2 separate regions of the Homo sapiens genome follow, and region 2 is linked to region 1. The links are contacts of gene promoters, found by promoter capture Hi-C in blood cells and fetal thymus (Javierre and others, 2016). All regions are on one chromosome and are shown on one strand. The core of a region is centred on a gene start or on the middle of the fragment in contact, and the rest is flanking DNA. Distances in the headings are between cores, read along the strand shown. Region 1 holds the start of AP4E1 (adaptor related protein complex 4 subunit epsilon 1). Region 2 overlaps TRPM7 (transient receptor potential cation channel subfamily M member 7).

Evidence for each region. Contacts are between HindIII fragments. The CHiCAGO score rates a contact against its expected background, and 5 or more counts as called.
Region 2: a fragment that was not itself captured here is called in contact with the fragment with the promoter of AP4E1 in region 1 in 9 of 17 cell types (activated CD4 T cells, naive CD8 T cells, erythroblasts and 6 more); the score reaches 9.4 in activated CD4 T cells.

Annotation. Positions count from the first base shown.
Region 1 is chr15:50,905,118-50,911,786 of GRCh38, reverse strand. AP4E1 (adaptor related protein complex 4 subunit epsilon 1) reads right to left here and starts at 3,104. Exons shown (of 21, transcript NM_007347.5): 1 at 2,859-3,104. The coding sequence starts at 3,008. RefSeq lists enhancers at 2,028-2,769, 2,816-2,985, 3,006-3,295, 2,770-3,511. The HindIII fragment of the contact is 3,809 bases long and covers 2,704-6,512 here.
Region 2 is chr15:50,638,547-50,645,215 of GRCh38, reverse strand. It overlaps TRPM7 (transient receptor potential cation channel subfamily M member 7), which reads left to right. Exons shown (of 39, transcript NM_017672.6): 5 at 1,663-1,876; 6 at 5,668-5,792. Among named protein-coding and RNA genes, the nearest start is that of TRPM7, 45 kb to the left of the region's middle. The HindIII fragment of the contact is 4,551 bases long and covers 2,916-6,669 here.

The sequences.
Region 1 (6,669 bases), core at 1,855-4,354:
AAAGGTGGAAGCCGGGCACAACAGCTCATGCCTGTAATCCCAGCACTTTGGGAGGCCAAGGCGAGTGAATCACTTGAGGTCAGCAGTTTGAGACCAGCCTGGCCAACATGGCAAAACCCCGTCCCTACTAAAAATACAAACATTAGCTGGGGGTCCTGTAATCCCAGATACTCGAGAGGCTGAGGCAGGGGCAGGAGAATCGCTTGAACCCGGGAAGTGAATGTTGCAGTGAGCCGAGATCGTACCACTGCACTCCAGCCTGGGTAACAGAGCAAGACTCCATCTAAAAAAAAAAAAAAAAAAAAAATTAAAGGTGGAGAGAGAGTAGAAATTCTCCATGTATTGGCCCAAGAAAAGAGTCTCATCTCACATCTTCCCCTTAGAAGTAAAAAGTCTTCATGGAATTAAGAAACAGGGTAAGAAAGCAGAAACAGAAATAGGTCTTTTTCCCTTAAACTACATTCTTCTTCCCTGTCTTTTCCTCATTCCCCAAATCCTTTCCATAACTTCCTATCTCAGACACATACCAATGTGGTCACTCCTACTGTCTGCATTGTATGTTATCTCCCTAAGCACTTAAAAAATTGGCCCCATTTTTTTTTGGCTAATATCATGCTACCTTTAAATTACACACTGAATTACATGTTCATCAGATGGCTATTCAAAAGCCACTAGTGACGTACTGATACACGTGGATGCCTATCTACAGTTTCAAACTGCTATTTAAGACCAAAAATAACTTTTTAAAAAATTTTATTGAGGATCCCTTAAAAATTAGCAAAGGACAAAAACCTTAAGAAAAACAACATTATTAAGGCCACAAATGGCCAGGCGTGGTGGCTCACGCCTGTAATCCCAGCACTTTGGGAGGCCAAGGCCAAGGCAGGTGGATTACCTGAGGTCAGGAGTTCAAGACCAGCCTGGCCAACATGGCGAAACCCTGTCTCTACTAAAAATATAAAAATTAGCCGGGTATGGTGACGTGTGCCTGTAATCCCAGCTACCAGGGAGGCTGAGGCAGAAGAATCACTTGAACCCAGGAAGCAGAAGTTGCAGTGAGCCAAGATTGCACCACTGCATTCCAGCCTGGGCGACAGAGTGAGACTCCATCTCAAAAACAAAACAAAACAAGACAAGCCCACAAGTAATGATTCTGGAATGTGAAGCAGGTTCTCTCCGGATAGCATCAACTTATTAGAGCTGCCAAAAAAATATTTTTTTTAAACCTTCAGAGCACTTTCTTTTCTGTCTTTCCTTCTCTTTTAGCACTTCTATTGCATTGTAGTCATGCTTATACTTGTCTTAAGCCCAAAACGAATGACTAATTCCTTGGGAAAAGGGAATGTGTTTAATTCTATTTTCCTGTGTCTAACACATAACCTTGTTCCATAAACATCTGTTGAACAAATAATGACATTAACACGTGCTCTTTTTAAGATATAAACTCCTTGTAGCTGTGAATCGGTATACTACACAATCCGTGCAACCATCGAGCGCCTGTGGGGGCCCGGCGCGGTGGCTCATGCCTGTAATCCCAGCACTTTGGGAGGCCGAAGTGAGCGAACACTTGAGGTCAGTTCAAGACCAGCCTGCCCAACATGGTGAAATCCTGTCTCTACTAAAAATACAAAAATTAGCCGGGCGTAGTGGCATACGCCTATAATCCCAGCTACTTGGGAGGCTGAGGCAGGAGAATCGCTTGAACCCGGGAGGCAGACGCTCCAGTGAGCCAAGATCGCACCATCGCACTCCAGCCTGGGCGACAGAGCGAGACTCCGTCATTAAAAATTTAAAAATTTTAAGGCCGGGCAGGGTAGCTCACGCACGTAATCCCAACACTTTGGGACGCCAAGGCGGGCGGATCGCGAGGTCAGGAGATCGAGACCATCCTCGCTAACACGGTGAAACCCCGTCTCTACGAAAAGTACAAAAAATTAGCCAGGCAGTGGCGGGCACTTGTAGTCCCAGCTACTCGGGAAGCTGAGGCAGGAGAATGGCGTGAACCCGGAAGGCGGAGCTTGTAGTGAGCCCAGATCGCGCCACTGCACTCCAGCCTGCGCGACAGAGCGAGACTCCGTCTCAAAAAAAAACAAAAATTAAAATTTTTAAAACCTTAAGGCTCCAGCGAGCCGAGATCGAGATCGCACCATTGCACTCCAGCCTGGGCGACAGAGAGAGACTCCGTCAATAAAAATTTAAAAATTTTAAAAGTTTAAGAATTTTTATAACTGCTCATTTTCAAAGCCCACTTGAGGCAGAGACTTAGCAAATTTTACATTTTGAGAGAACTGTGCTTTTTCTTTGCCCAACACGTTGTTGTAACCCAAGAACCTCAAGCTCCCCAAAGATATTCAACAAGAGGCTCACAGGATCTCTTCAGGTATGCGACATCTGAACTGTTGTTCAGTTGAAGGCACCGGGGGAGAGAAGGAAACTGAGTAGGGAAAAAAAACTTTGTGGAAGGTAAATAATGTCTGACACTTCCATCGCACTAGGTATTTTCACACGCTTGACATCTCACCCAATCCTCAAAACAAACAAAAAACCTATGAATTATGTATCAGTACTTTTCCACCACAACGTTGAGAAAACACACGGAGGCTCAGAGGTTACAGAGATGTGCCCCCGATCAAAGAGTCAGTGTCAGAACTAACTGTGGAAACTCGGCTTCCCTGCTGTCAGTCCCAGCAGGAAAGTGAAGCTTCCAGGCAGACGAAAGGACGAACCGACACAGCAGCCCCTGAGCCCCGCCGGAGGGCTAACCCCAGAGGCCCTGAAGTCTCGCCGCCCGGCCAGGGCCTCCTGGCGCGGGGGCCTCACTCCGATGTCCCTGAGCTCCCGGGCCGGCGGGCACCTACGTGCTTGGAGGTGAGGGCTGTGATGCCGCGGACAAGGCTGCCCAGCCTCGAGGAGAAGGACGCCTTGGCGGCCGCGGGCCCACCACCGGGCTGGTTCTGCAGAAAGAGTCCCGGCAGCGCCGTCAGCGTCTTCTCCACTATGTCGCTCATCGCCGCCGCCGCCCGCGATGCCGCCGCCGCCCGCGATCCCGTAGCCGCCCGGCTTCATGCCCGGCCGCCGCTGCCGGCCCGGCCTCCGTAGGCACTTCCTGTTTTTTGAATAAGAAATCTTTATTGGCGTCCCACCTGAACAAGTTCAGCGTCGTTCTCGCGAGAGGCCACCAGAGGGCGCAAGAGACCGCGGGGGTGGAAAAGGCCGCTCGCTCGAGATTGCGCGCGTAAGTAGACCTCCTTTCTCGCGACGGGGTAGCGGTTCCGGAATCCCCCAGAACCGTGAGTCCTCCTGAGGAAGCCGTCGGGGGCCTGGCCCTGTTAGGCACTGTCTCCCAGAGTCCCCCTTTCCCACTAGCCGCCTCCGCGTAGCCCGAGACCGCGTCAGGAGTTGCGTCTTCCTGGCTGCGCCTTTTTCGGGACGTCCCCGCGCCGTCCGCCGCCTCTCACTGTCCCCGGAGCGCGCGCCACCCGCCCGCTTCCCACAGGCGGTTTCACGCGGGTCCCCGGCGCCGCGCGCGGCTCCGGCCCTGGCGACTCTTGGGACACCCGAGTAGTTGCGTGATAGCGGGGCTGTCCTGAGGATTCGGCGTGCCAGGTTGAGAGCCCGTCGCGTGCCGGGGACTCGCGGCCACTGTCGCTTCCCGTCCGCCCCTCTTCTCCTGGGATTTGGGGAGGTGGGCGGGAAAGAGAACTGGTCGGCGGCCACCCTTGCCGACTCCTCCTCAGCAGGTCGCAGTTGAAAGGTCATCCTTCTAGAGCCCACTCCCCTGGCCCGGCGGGCAAGGATAGGTCTCCAAGTCCCACCCTCTCACAGCGCTCGGTTCTGTTCCACTTTAGAACAGGTCGCAGTTGCCACTACGTAAACAGCTCCCCATAGAGAGAGTATTTTATTCATTCCGATTGCTCCGTCTTTTATCTAGAACAGAGTCTGGTACAATGGCTCTCGAAATGTGGTCTGGTGACCTCAGGGTCGCTGAGACCCTTCTAGGGAATTCACAAAGTCAAAACAACATTGATAACGTTTCTTACGTGTTATTTGCCGTTTTTACCCTCATTCTGTTGGAAATGTACAGAGTTTTCAAGCGGCTAGATGACGATTGACTAGCTGGTAAAATGTATCCTGGAGTATCCTTGTGTTTTCTAGAATTTTCTAAGGTAGTAGGTTTAGGGCATAAATACGTGCGTTTTCAGAGATTAATGCAATTTGCTCTCAGTACTCCTAGTGTGTTTCTAGGAGGTAGGTTAGGTAGGTGGTGATAGCCTCCCTTCAAGGGGAACAAACTTGCTAAATAAATAGAACAAACCAGCCCATAGTGTACAAACCACATCCGAGGCTCCTGGTTAGAAAATTTTGCAGCAAAGAGGTACGAGAGCAGAAGGGAAAATCCCCAAACTCTCACAAGCGCAGAAACCCATGATCAGTGTCGTTGGGCTGAATTATACTCATTATAATAGTAAAAAAAAAAAAAAAAAAAAAACACCACTCCTGGGTGAAGATTTAAGATACTAATAAGACATGCAGTGTATGTACTAGCATATACAACCACAGCGCACATGGCGACAGAAAACCAGAGAACGTGCTTAATAGCAGCACCCGTTCTCCCCGCTTCATGAATGATCCTGTGAGACTCCTACAAAGGGAGTTTCCCCAGTGTCAGTGCATGCTGTCTCACCTTTGAGCAGCCCGCTCTGATCAGCTGTGAGGGTGTACTTTCGCTTTGCAATAAACTCTTTTGCTTGCTTTTACTTTGGACTTCAAAATTATTTTGCACCGCGAAGTCCAGAACCTCAACCGGCCCACCAGCTACAGCTACACTTACAAGCTATCTTCGGTTATACCTGCTCTAATCTCTGTAACCTCCTTGTCACCTAATAAATGAGTTTTTTTGAAATCCTGAAGTTGTTTTAATACCTATATGGGAACATAAGAAAAAAGTTCAATTTGTTGGCTTGTCTCGCAAGAATATTTTTTAATATATTGAGAACATTTTAAAATATTTAAACTTTATCTAAAAGGGATACTCATTTATTCATTTAATTTTTTTTTTTTCAGAGTCTCGCTCTATCACCCAGACTGGAATGCAGTGGCACAATCTGGGTTCACTGCAGCCTCCTCCCCCTGGGTTCAAGCAATTCTCCTGCCTCAGCCTCCCGAGTAGCTGGGATTACAGGCGCCCGCCACCATGCCCGGCTAATTTTTGTATTTTTAGTAAACACAGAGTTTCACCATTTTGGCCAGGCTGGTCTCGAACTCCTGACCTCAGGTGATCCGCCCACCTCAGCCTCCCAAAGTGCTGGGATTACAAGCGCGAGCCACTGCGCCCAGCCAGAAAGGGATACTCTTTTAGAATTTAATTTTGTTATTTTATTATTATTTTTTGAGATGGTGTCTCGCTCTGTTGCCCAGGATGGAGTGCAGTGGTGTGATCTCGGCCCACTGCAACCTCCGCCTCCCAGGTTCAAGCAGTTCTCCTGCCTCAGCCTCCCGAGTAGCTGGGATTACAGGTGCGTGCCACCACACCCGGCTAATTTTTTGTATTTTTAGTAGAGATGTGGTTTCACCACGTTGGCCAGGATGGCCTCGGTCTCCTGACCTCATGATCTGCCCGCCTCAGCCACTCAAAGTGCTGGGATTACAGGTGTGAGCCACCACGCCCTGCCTAGAATTTAATATTTTGTCGTCCGGGCGCGGTGGTTTATGCCTATATTCTAGCACTTTGGGAGGCCAAGGCGGGCAGATTGTCTGAGCTCAGGAGTTCCAGACCAACCTGGCCAACATGGTGAAACCCCGTCTCTACTAAAAATACAAAATATTCGGACAGGCACGGTGGCTCCCACCTGTAATCACAGCACTTTGGGAGGCCAAGGTGCACAGACCACAAGGTCAGGATATCAAGACCAGCCTGGCCAACCTATGACTCTACTAAAAAAATACAGAAATTAGCCGGGCATGGTGGCGTGCGCCCGTAATCCCAGCTACTCGGGAGGCTGAGGCAGGAGAATTGCTGGGACCCGGGAGGCGGAGGTTGCAGTGAGCCGAGATTTCACCACTGCACTCCAGCGTGGGCGACAGAGCAAGACTCCACCTCAAAAAAAAAAAAATACAAAAAATTTAGCCGGGCATGGTGGCACACCTGTAGTCCCAACTACTTGGGAAGCTGAGGCAGGAGAATTGCTTGAACCTAGGAGGCGAAGGTTGCAGTGAGCCAAGATCGCACCACTGTACTCCAGCCTGGGTGACAGAGCAAGACTCTGTCTCCAAAAAAAAAAGGAATTTAATATTTTATCTTTAAATTAAATTTTGTTTTATGTATAGTTTTTTAATTTTAGGTTCTTCCATTGGCTTAAAAAGGGGATACTAGAAGATTCGCTTTCTAACCTTCCCGTCTGTAAAGATGCCGAAAAAGATGAAGCTGACATCAGTATCAGAATTCACTGACTCAGGGAAAGGGAGAAATCTGGTCGAAACTATAAATAACAAAGGAAAGTATGACAAAAGCTTCTTTCTTTCCCTTGGCATTAGAGATGTTAATCACTTGCCTTATTTTATGTCATTCAACAGAACATTTTCAAATACTATTATGGTGCCAATCAAGTTGAGGCATCATTTTCAGACCAGTCAGAATTTAAAAGAAAGGGAATTTAATACTTTCAACAT
Region 2 (6,669 bases), core at 3,942-6,441, 270 kb after region 1:
ACAAAAAAATTAACCATGCTGGGTGCCGTGTGTCTGTAATCCCAGCACTTTGGGAGGCTGAGGTGGGCAGATCACTTGAGCCCAAGAGTTCAAGACCAGCCTGGGCAACATGGTGAAACCTTGTGTCTACAAAAAATATTTAAAAAATTAGCTACGCAGGGTGCCCTGTGTCTGTAGTCCCAGCTGCTTGGGAGGCTGAGGTGGGAGGATGGCTTGAGCCTGGGAGGCAGAGGCTGCAGTGAGCCGTGGTGGCGCCACTGCACTCCAGCCTGGGCAACAGAGCCTGACCGTGTCTAAAAAAAACAAAACAAAACCAAAAACCAAAGTATTCTTAAGGGACTCCAGTCTTCTACTCAGTTTTATGGAATTCTGGGGTTTTTTGGGCTTCATTTCTTTTTTTTTTTTTTTTTTTTTTTTTGAGACGCAGTTTCGCTCTTGTTGCCCAGCCTGGAGTGCAATGGCACAGTCTCAGCTCCCTGGAACCTCTGCCTCCTGGGTTCAAGCAATTCTCTTGCCTCAGCCTCCCAAGTAGCTGGGATTACAAGCACTCACGCCTAGCTAATTTTTTTGTATTTAGTAGAGACGGGGTTTCACCATGTTGGTCAGGCTGGCCTCGAACGCTTGACCTCAGGTGATCCACTTGCCTTGGCCTCCCACAGTGCTGGGATTACAGGCGTGAGCCACTGTGCCTGGCCTTTTGGCTTCATTTGTTTGTCAGTACTGAGATTTTCAGTAGTGTTTGATCTTTGTAAAGGAATGGGAAATACATCATTTTGCAAATAAGGTTTCTTAGAGATGATTTTTAAATGTCTCAATGTCTGAATACTTGAAGTTTCTTATGAGCTACTTCATATATGTGCTTTAGGCCAAGAGAATGAATTAATGTGAGTATAGCAAGTAAGTCTTATGATATCACTTAAACAGGAAGTTAATTTTTAAAATCTTTCAAACCAGAAGAAGTTATTTCACACACGATAGCTTTTTTTTCTATTTTTCTATAGAAAGATGTTTTCAAAAATTAAACTGGAGAATCCATCCGAACACCATGAAATGTTGATTACGATTTTCTGATTATTTCTCAGTCTGATCAAATCCAGTTATTTACAGTGAAGAAAATAATCATCTATATTAAATATATCTTTTTAAATTTTACTCCATAGTCACAATTCATTTATAAATGGACTAGATCATTGCCAAACTTTCATACAAATAATTCAGTATTTGCCTCTCTTCATAGCAAGAGCCTTAGAAGCCTCCATATTTTTCCCCCCTAATTCCTTTTTTTTCCTTTTCCGATCCTCTTCAGCCAGTCTTAATGTTTCTAACTCACTGTGTAGTCATAGTTAAAGAAGGCAATAAATACTGCAGGTACTTGGGTAAATTGGGTCAATGGTAATTGAGTTTAAACAGAAAGAGTAACATTTGTGTCTAAATGTTTAAAAGTTAGTTTCGCTATTTCTGTAGATCTCACAGAATGATTTTTTCAACTTTAAAATCATTTACTATTGCTTATTCCTTGGAGTATAAATATATTGAAAATAGCCTATGAAATCTCTTTTTACATAATCTGATTCATATAAAATTTTCCAAAGTCATATAATGTCACATTATGAAACCTGTGAACATGTTCAATTATTTTCTCCTTTTAAAATCTTTTTCTAGTATGTGAGGCTATCATATGACACCAAACCTGAAGTCATTCTGCAACTTCTGCTTAAAGAATGGCAAATGGAGTTACCCAAACTTGTTATCTCTGTACATGGGGGCATGCAGAAATTTGAGCTTCACCCACGAATCAAGCAGTTGCTTGGAAAAGGTCTTATTAAAGCTGCAGTTACAACTGGAGCCTGGATTTTAACTGGAGGAGTAAACACAGGTAATGTGATGATTATACCAATTTTATTTAGTGTGTTTTAATTTTTTTTTTTGAGACGGACTCTCACTCTGTTGCCAGGCTGGAGTGCAATGGCACAATCTCGGCTCACTGCAACCTCTGCCTCCCGGGCTCAAGCAATTCTCCTGCCTCAGCCTCCAGAGTAGCTGGGATTACAGGCCTGCGCCACCATGCCCGGTTAATTTTTGTATTTTTAGTAGAGACGAGGTTTCACCATATTGGTCAGGCTGGTCTCGAACTGCTGACCTCGTGATCCGCAAAATTATCCTCCCAAAATGCTGGGATTACAGGCATTAGCCACCACGCCCGGCCCTTAAATTTTTTTATAATAGCAATTAGATATTTGAAATACAGATCAACACTGAATATAGATATACTTAACTCTTGATAAATAATCTACAGTTTGTAGGTAAAAATGATAATCGAACCTGTTTGGTTATTATTTTGTCTTTAAAAAAAAAACGCAACACTTTAGAGCAGGATTTGGCAAACTATAGCCTGTGTGCCAAATCCAGCCCAAACCTTGAATAAAGATTTACTGGAACATTCACTTATTTACTGTATTAGTCTGTTTTCATACTGCTATAAAGAACTGCCCGAGACTTGGTAATTTATAAAGGAAAGAGGTTTAATTGACCCACAGTTCAGCATGACTAGGGAGCCTCAGGAAATTTATAATCATGGTGGAAGGTGAAGGGGAAGCAAGGCACCTTCTTACACAAAGTGGCAGGAAGGAGAAGTGCCACGCGAAGAGGGAAGAGCCCCTTATAAAGCCATCAGATCTTGGGAGAACTCAGTCACTATCACCAGAACAGCATTGGGGAAACCGCCCCCATGATTCAGTTACTTCCACCTGGTCTCTCCCGTAAAACCTGGGGATTATAGGGATTACAATTCAAGATCAGATTTGAGTGGGGATGCAAAGCTTAACCATATCAGTTTATATATTGTCTATGGCTATTTTTGTGCTGTAACAGCAGAGGTGAATAGTTGTGACAGAGATGGTATACCCTATAAAGCTTATACTGTTTAGCCTTTTAGAAAAAGGTTTTTGACCCTACTGTAGAGCAAAGCATTATTTCCATCACTTTCCTTCTAGTGGTAAATTGATACAAGAATGGCAATCCATTGCCTCAGCAGCAGTAAGAAGTAGCTTTCAAAAATTAATTTGTAACATACTACTGTCTTTTATTCTATATCTTCCCTATCACATATACAGGTTGAATATAAAGAGGGCAGATTACTTTCATTGTCTAAAATAAAACATTTAAGTCAGCTTGCAAACATCTAATTCATTATCAGCAACTTTTTTTTTTTTTTTTTTGAGACAGAGTCTTGCTGTCACCCAGGCTGGAGTGCAGTGGTGCCATCTCAGCTCACTGCAACCTCCACCTCCCGGGTTCAAGTGATTCTCATGTGTCAGCCTCCCAAGTAGCTGGGATTACAGGTGCCCGTCACCACACGTGGCTAAGTTTTGTATTTTTACTAGAGATGGGGTTTCACTATGTTGGTCAAGCTGGTCTTGAACTTCTGACCTCAGGTGATCCGCCCGCCTAGGCCTCCCAAAGTACTGGGGTTACAGGTGTGAGCCACTGCACCTGGCCAGCAGCTATTTTTTGAACCTCATTGTGTCAGAAGTTTTTGAGGCTGCTAAGAATTTATTCCATAAACAGTAAAAATATCTACCTTCATGGAACTTCTAGTGGGGGAGATAAAGATAAGAAACAGATAACTCAGTAATGTATAACGTGTTAGATGCTGATAAGTGTTATGCAGACACATGAAGTCAAGAAGAGGGATAGTGAGGGATGATGGAAGGGCTGCTATTTTGTTACATGGTCAAGGAGAGCTGATAAGGTGACAGTTGAGGAGAAATGGAAATGAGGAAGCAAGGTACAAGAAAAACATAAGGCAAAGCATGTAAAGGGGAGGAGATGGCTCGTGTGTTGGAAGAATAGTAAGAACAGTCTAATATAGCTTGAGTGGAATAAGCAGAGAGTGCTAGGTGATGAAGTCAGAAGTTCTGGTGTATGGTGGTAGAGAAGCATGGTGACTAGTAGAGGCAGTAGGCAGTTCATCGCATGAGGCCTTGGGGACCGTTATAAGCATTTTGGCTTCTGCTCTGAATGAGAAGAGGAGGTTTTAAGTAGAGAGTCAACAGCTGCAAAGATCACTCGGATGATGTTTTCAAAATGGAGTATAATGGCAAGGCAGCAGTTGAAAGACCTACGAAGATGCTATTTTCATAATTTGGGTGAGGGATGAGATGTGATGCATTATGGAGATCAAACTGAGTGATGCATTAGTTTGCCGGGGCTGCTGTAACCAAATATCACAGACTGGGTGGCTTAAAAACAGAAATTTATTTTCTCATGGTTTCCGAGATTAAAAGTCTAAGAGTAAGTGTCAGCAGATTTGGTTTATCTTGGGGCCTCTCTCTTTGGCTTGCACATGGTCATCTTCACACTGTGTCCTCCCTCTCATGGCCTCCTGTGTATAGGTATCCTTGGTGTTTCCTTTTGTATTCAGATTTCTTTATAAGAGCACCAGTTAGATTCAGGGCCACTCCAGAGGCCTTATTTTAAATTAATCGTCACATATTTAAAGGCCCTGCCTCCAAGTACAGTAATGTTTTAAGGTATTATCACATATATAAAGGCCCTGTCTCCAACTGCAGTCATATTTTATGGTATTGGGAGTTAGGGGACACAATTCAGCCCATAAGAAGTAATAATGGGCCAGGCATGGTGGTTCATGCCTATAATCCCAGCACTTTGGGAGGCTGAGGTGGGAGGATCACTTGAGCCCAGGAGTTCAAAACTAGCCTGGGCAACATGGTAAGACACTTTCTAAAAAAAAAAAAAAAAAGAAAAAAAAATTACCCCGGCATGGTGGTATGTGCCTACCCTCCTAGCTACTTGGGAGGCTGAGGTGGGAGGATCACTTGAGCCCGGGAGGTCAAGGCTGCAGTGAGCTAAGCCATGATCACACCACTGCACTCCAGCCTGGGCAATAGAGTGAGACCCTGACTCCCTCCCTCAAAAAAAAGAAGTGATAATGAGGAGTTATATGCTCTTTGGAACTGCCTTTTATACTTTTCTCTCTCATTTTTGACTGAAATAGACTTTTGTCATTGTTTATTGTGTGTGTGTGTGTTTTGCGTATGGTCCTGTGCCACCGATTAATTTTTTCTAAATGATGTGTAGAGCAATAATAAAAAACTACAGTTACTTAGAGGAGAAATGCAAAAACGGACTAGACCAAATAACATGGTAAAATTTAGTGTTATATGTGTTTTCTGGCATTTGTAGTGATTTGATATTGTGGGGTTTAGTGGTTTTTGTTCCTTTTTGGTCCTTGTGTATTCTTCTGTAGGTTTGGCTATGACCTTGTTTTAAGTTTGTTATGACCTTGTTGCCTTATATCTTGAAGGTGTGGAGAAATATATCACATATTATAGTGTTACAGATTTAGCACAGGATTGTTCTGAACACAGTAATGACTGTAATCCCAGAACTTTGGGAGGCTGAGGCATGAGCCCAAGAGTTCAAGACCCACCTGTCTCTACTGAAAAAAAAAAAAAAAAAATTAGCCGGCTGTCTTAGCACGCACCTGTAGTCCCACCTACTGGGGAGGCTCACAAGGGAGGATCGCTTGAGTCCAGGAGTTTGAGGCTGCAGTGAGCTGTCATTGCGCCACTGCTCTCTTTCCTGGGTGACCCTGTCTTTAAGAAAATAAAAAAAACAAAATGAATAAACTTTTTTTATGAACAGGTGTGGCAAAACATGTTGGAGATGCCCTCAAAGAACATGCTTCCAGATCATCTCGAAAGATTTGCACTATCGGAATAGCTCCATGGGGAGTGATTGAAAACAGAAATGATCTTGTTGGGAGAGATGTAAGAATTATTTTTAAAATTTCTTATGTTTGAAATTATATGTAAACAAAATTATAGTAAGAATAGTGCCAGTTTAAAATATTTATGATTATATTATACTTTTCAAATTAAGTTTAAAAGGTATTTTCCTGAGGTTTACTTCTGAATTTTTGGAAATGCATAAATATAAATAATTCATAACTATAAATAATTAAGTTCATAAATATAAATGCTGTTACAGTGTTGGCACATTTTGCTTTCAGTCTTTTATGTGTAAAATTATTTCACATTTTCCATATAAGCTAGTCTTTGTAATTAAATTTTTAATGACTACATGACATGAGAATTAATTTTATTCTCACTAAGACTAGGGAATAGGAGTTAAATGCTAGTGTTTTGTTTGAATAGGTTAAAGACATGTGAATTGGTTATAGATATTTATCAACACTGTTAAAAAGAATTACTGGCTGGGCGCAGTGGCTCACACCTGTAATCCCAGCACTTTGGAGGCTGAGGCGGGCTGATCACTGGAGATCAGGAGTTCACGACCAGCCTGGCCAACATGGTGAAACCCCGTCTCTACTAAAAATACAAAAATTAACTGGGTGTAGTGGCCTGTGCCTCCTAGCTACTTGGGAGGCTGAGGCGGGAGAATTGCTTGAAACTGGAAGGCAGAGGTTGCAGTGAGCTGAAATTGAGCCACTGCATTCCAGCCTAGGTGACAAAGCAAAACTCCATCTCATACATACATACATACATACATACATACAATTACTGAATTATAATGATCACTTTCAAGTGTTATTAAATTTCTAATGTCAGTTTTTGAGTCTACTCATGGCTGGAAAAATAGCAATATTACATTTTATTGTTTTTTACAGTGTCTTTTTTTTTTGAA